2 separate regions of the Homo sapiens genome follow, and region 2 is linked to region 1. Evidence: promoter capture Hi-C in 16 types of primary human blood cells and fetal thymus (Javierre and others, 2016). All regions are on one chromosome and are shown on one strand. Each heading gives the region's core, a stretch centred on a gene start or on the middle of the fragment in contact. The rest is flanking DNA. Distances are from core to core; before and after follow the strand shown. Region 1 holds the start of PRR9 (proline rich 9). Region 2 holds the start of LCE1F (late cornified envelope 1F).

Region 1 (2,700 bases), core at 86-2,585:
GTGGTGGTGGTGATAAGTGGAAAGTCCATCAGAATTCAGTTTGTTTTGAGGCTTATTTGAGAGCCTGAAACTCTGAAAGATGAATGAAGGTATCCTTGGCTGTTACACACCCAGAGCTGGGTGAATTTTTGCACCAAGGAAGCTGTGCTAGGCTTCTGTGGTCTTCCCTGACAACCACACCATTCCTACATTTGAGACCTTCCATCAGACTGCTGAGAACAATGCTTATTCACAGAGGGTGATGAAATACAGAAAGAACTGTCTTCAGAGACACAGACCAAGTCCTGGAATGCTAAGGAAGCCAGGAGGCAAGAAGGTACATTGCACACAGAGGTACCCACAGAAGAAGGTCACCAGAGCGTGGGCTGGGGTCAGGGTTTCATCTGCTGGCCATCTTCTTGAACCCAGATGACATATGAGCAGCTACTTTCCCTTGCCAGGGGATGAGCACTTCTCCTGGACTTTCTGTGGGCAAACCTCCACACATTTTGTCTGGAATAGCTCCTGGCATGGCTCTGCACACTGAGGTGGACACTGGTCTTGGCATGGAGGTAGGTATGGCTCTTGGCCTTGCTGTGGGCATTTTTCTTGACTTGATTCCTGGCACTGAGAAAGACATACCTCCTGGGCCTGCACTAGACACTTATCTTGGCAGGGGTGCTGGCATGTGGGGAGGCACACCTCCTCAGCCTTTGCTTGGCACTGCTCCTGGGTCTTTGGGAGGCATGGAGGGGGCACACATGGCTGCTTGCACTGCTGCTCACTGAAGGACATCCTAGGGTGATTTGCAGAGCCTGAAAAAAACACAAGATTCGAAATTATCTGTATTAAAAATATCAGCATGGGAACTGGGGAATGAAGGGTTGAGAAAGAGGAATGAGGAGTGGATGGAAGAACTAATGGAATGGAATGAGGAGTGGAAGTAAGAACTAATTTCTTGGCTGCTTTTTATCTCTTTCTCTTTTCTATCCTGGCTGCAGCTCCCTGTGGCACCTGTCTCCAAAGTGGGAGTGTTCTCCTGGCCTCTGTCTAGACATCCATAGCTCCAAACCCCAGTCTTACCACAGGTTTTTTTCCCTTCTCTTCTAGTCTACGAATCCTTTTGAAAATCAGGTGCAAGAGACTAGACTAGATAGGCAAATTCTAGTCTGGATAGAATATACAGGATAGTTTGTGAGGCCCAAGAAATGGCAAACCACTTAAAAAATCAGTAGAAAGTACAGTCCATAAGAGGAACAGAACAGCGGCCGCCTAAAGACAGAGTAACAGGGAGAGAGAGGGCACAGATGCCCCACTTACCTGATCTTCAACAAGACTCAACAAAGGCTGTGGACTGTGAAGCCCAGCAAGGTGGGACTTTTATATGTTGCTTAGTCCAGCCTCCCGCGGGACTGACTGGTCACATGGGCTGTGGTATTAATTGTGGAGTCACCATAACAAGCTTCCTCTGAAATTGCCGATGGTTTGAGTCACTGCTTGGGATGCCTGTTAATCAGACTGCATTTTGGCCTGTGGGTCCTCACCAGACCTCAGCAGGGAGGGGCTTCTCTCAGATCTCTCTCATCAGAGGCAGCAGGAAAAGAATGTTCATAAAGTGTTATCTCAGTCTGTTCAACCAGGATTCCTTGTCTGCCCAAACTGGTACAGGATGTGGTGAGAGATAAGATCCACCTTGCTCATCTCATCTTCACCAATGGGAAGATTTTATGCCTAAGGCCTGGGGCCTCTCTGGGTCAAGGGCTTGTATGGCCTGTTGCAGACACTTCTTCATCAAGCCTAGAAAGTCACCCTTCAGATGCAAGGATGAAGGCTCGTCCTGTGGTTCCAAGCGAACAAAGGGCTTTCAGCCTGCTGAAGAGAGTGATTTTCCTGCGTGATGGTCTTGAGGGAAATTGCGGTTCATTTGTTACTCTTGGGTTGTGAAGTGGGGTGAAGGGGAAGAGAGAGGAAGGAGAAGGCAGACAATCTTCATCTTCTCAACCTTGATTTATGACACCCTTATGAAAGTGGAGTTACTCACAGAGTTTTCATAGTGACCAGGAGAACAGGCTGGAACAAAGTTAACTTGTCTCTTTGCCTTCTGGAAAACGTTTTCTTAGAACTCAAGTCAATAAAAGTCAGGGGATGAAAGGAAAAGTTTCAAAGCAAACACACCCAGTTTTCTCTACCTCTACTTTCTAGTTTGGGCTGTTAGTTTTTACCTGGTGTGTTCTCCCTGTGCCTGTGGGAATCCTAAGCATTCTGCAAAGCTTTACTCATGTCTACCACCCTCTGAGAGCCTTTCCTGATTACTCTAAACCAGAAATGAATCCACCTCTTTATGCACTCCCATGGTATCTATTATTTATATTATTCATATGACATTTACTATTGAAATTAGGACTTTCCAGATATTTATATATAGATCTTATTTTTTCCTGGGTTATAAGTTCCTAGAGGATAGGTACTATGCCATAGGTATAGTAAGTGGAAGATGATGGAAGACAAATGATTATTGATGGGGTAAATGTATTAATGAAGGAATACAGAAGGTGGATGTGGGAGAGCTGGGAGTAGAGGAAAATCTCATTTAATTGAAAATGGGAAAAGATTTACTTTGAAAGAAGCCCCCATTTCCTTAAAATGGTGGTTCTGTGTTTGCTGAAGTTGACCAAATTCAAGGGTCTTTAAATATGATGATGTTCCCTTCCTTTCTCCTTA
Region 2 (2,700 bases), core at 133-2,632, 440 kb after region 1:
GCCTCCGGAGCTGACGCTGCAGCAGGAAGAGACAGGAGGGCACTTAGGGGGACACTTTGGGGGGCACTTCGGTGTGGGGCACTTGGGAGGGCACTTGGGAGTGCACTTGGGAGGGGGCTGGCACTGCTGCTGGCTCTGCTGGCAAGACATCTCGGTGGCGGGTGTTCAGGAGCTGAAGGAGGGTCAGACAGCAAGTTAGATGGAGGCAGAGGACACCCCTGCCTATTCTTGTCCTTTCTGCATTATTTCTAGATCCTTCATTTTGAAAGCCTTATATCAAACATAGGAAAATCACCTCTAATGTTTTTATCACTCTCAATGTTTACCAAGTGCTTTCATTCATGGATTCTCATTTCAAACCTTATTTGAGATGTTGTCATGCAATATATAATCTCCAAATATGTAAATAAAGTTTCTGCTCATTAAAAGCTCCTAAGTGTGGGAGAGAAGTCCAGGAAATAAATTGGCTCCGGGCCAGCATTCATTCTATCACATCACCAAGAATTCTGAAAATGTTCAATGTTGAGACCAGTTTAGAGATGAAAATCTCTTTAAGGAAAAATCAAAATAAATTTCTATTGGAAGAACTGATATATTTCAGTTTGCAGAAATAGAGAAAACTATAACCGCAAAGGATGTTGGAGTCAATTTGTTCCAACCAACTCAATATATAAATAAAGAAACTGAAGCCAAAAGAGGTAACTTCACTGGCCCAAAGTTATTCATTAACAGTCACATTTGTTCCGGGGTCCCCTGGTTCCCATCCTGGGCTCTGCCCTTTAGCACATCCTGCCTCCCCAGGCCTGTCCCCAGGCACTGTCACATGGCTTTTAAACTCCAGTGTGCACTCAGTTTTCCACTACAGATCTTCTTGTTGGCATCTAACAAGATCCACAGGTGTCTTTGATCCTTTCTTCCTCTAAGTAGCAGTGTTCTCAGCATATCTTTTCTAAAAGTGAGTATGTCTGTATTTCCAAAATTATATTCCCACTATGCAGCCCACTCTAGCAACATCCAGTGGCCAATGTGTTTATTCTCTAAAACCAGAGAAACACACTGAGCAACTGAAAACAATTTGGTTCCTCTAAATCTGTGTCATACAGCCCTTCAGATCTTACCAGTTCTTCTTAATCTCTCTCACTCCACCCCACCCCTCTACCTCCTCTTTCCAATTTTCTGCCCCCACCCCATTCCTTGCCAATCACAATTCCAGGCCCCTGAGGCCCTGCCTAGACTCTACTCCTGCCCTGGTCTGAGTATCCATCCCCTCCTTCCCTGGCCTGGGCATCCCTCTGTGGAAGCCCCTGCTCCTTTTTCCAGGGCACACTTACCAGGATCACAGGCAGCACAGGGTTCTTCAGCACCGCAGGAGGTGAGTGGATGGGATGCTCTGGCCCTGAGCCCTTTTATTCTGTCCTTGGGTGCTGCCTCCAGCGGTGAGACAGAGCCTGGGCATGAGAGGACCTGCCTCCCGACACCCACATAGGTCTTGTGACGAGTGGTGACTGGCAGTTCTGCATATACCGTCCTTCATTGGTGTTCAGGGGAGCTGCTGTCAGCTAGGAAAGAGCTTGGTGGAAATGGGGGCTTGTGGTGGGTGAAAATGGACATCATGGTTCCTGGAGTCCTCCGTGGCCTATTTCCTATGAAGATGGCTCTCTTCACAGTCTTGTAGTCACACTTATGAATTCTGCACAAACAACTCATTTTTCCTTCTATTCTAGATACTAATTTTCCATCTAGACCTTTGGGTCCATATAGCTTGGTTAAAAATCCACATGCCTGCATTATGGGGTTTGTCCATGTGCACATGGGCATGTGTGTGCATCATAGAAGTCGAGAAAAGAGGCCTTGGAGACCCTGGCAAAGTATTCAATATTTTTGGCCATTGGCTTTCTGATGTTTTAAATGAAGATAATAAGAGAAATATCTTTTCTGCAGGATTTACAAATTAATTAAGATAACAAAGGGGAAGTAGCTGAGATAGTATGTGGCATGTGGTTATAATTAGGAAATGGATGAATAGGTAGATAGATAGATAGATAGATAGATAGATAGATAGATAGAAAGAAAAATAGAGGCAAACCTGAGATTTTAATGGACATTGGGAATTTTTAAAGTCACAGGTGCCTTTTAAGTTAGGTGGCTCTTATTAAAACTAAAGGCCATTTTTTTTTCCTCCTACGTACCTCAGTGAATAGGGCTTTCTGAAGGTAGATCCAGAGTGGGTATAAGAAAAGAGGACTAAAGGATGTATATTGCCCCAAATTATAGCATAAAAGAATTTGCAGTTTCCTGAGGAAAAGCTGAAGGGATGAGGTAAAATAAAGATGAGAAGGGTGAAGAGAAGAGAACAGCCAATGAGGTGGCTTTGAACTGTGACTTGGAGTGGTGTAGTTGGTATAGACAAGAATAGACATAGTCAATATTTAATTTGAAATTATTGGCTTTGTTGCAATACACATTTCCTGGGTTTAATTTCCCAGTTTCCCATGCTCAAAACTAACCAAATGCAAAATCTAACAATAAAAAACCAATATTTGAAAAATAAATATGGTCAAAATTACATATAACATCAAAGAATTATTGGATGGTTTTAGCAGATTATAAGTTGCAGAAGAACAGATCGGTGAACTTGAAGAAATTGTTCAAACTGAACTGAAGAAAGGGAAAAATATTAAAAAAATGAACAGATGATCA

What was found. Contacts are between HindIII fragments. The CHiCAGO score rates a contact against its expected background, and 5 or more counts as called.
Region 2: a contact is called between the fragment with the promoter of LCE1F here and the fragment with the promoter of PRR9 in region 1, in 2 of 17 cell types (M2 macrophages and M0 macrophages). The highest score is 5.5, in M2 macrophages.

What each region holds. Positions count from the first base shown.
Region 1 is chr1:153,216,219-153,218,918 of GRCh38, reverse strand. It overlaps PRR9 (proline rich 9), which reads right to left and starts at 1,335. Exons shown (of 2, transcript NM_001195571.2): 1 at 1,300-1,335; 2 at 1-794. The coding sequence starts at 774. The coding sequence ends at 424. The HindIII fragment of the contact is 3,256 bases long and covers 1-1,443 here.
Region 2 is chr1:152,773,822-152,776,521 of GRCh38, reverse strand. It overlaps LCE1F (late cornified envelope 1F), which reads right to left and starts at 1,382. Exons shown (of 2, transcript NM_178354.3): 1 at 1,332-1,382; 2 at 1-172. The coding sequence starts at 150. The HindIII fragment of the contact is 9,364 bases long and covers 1-2,700 here.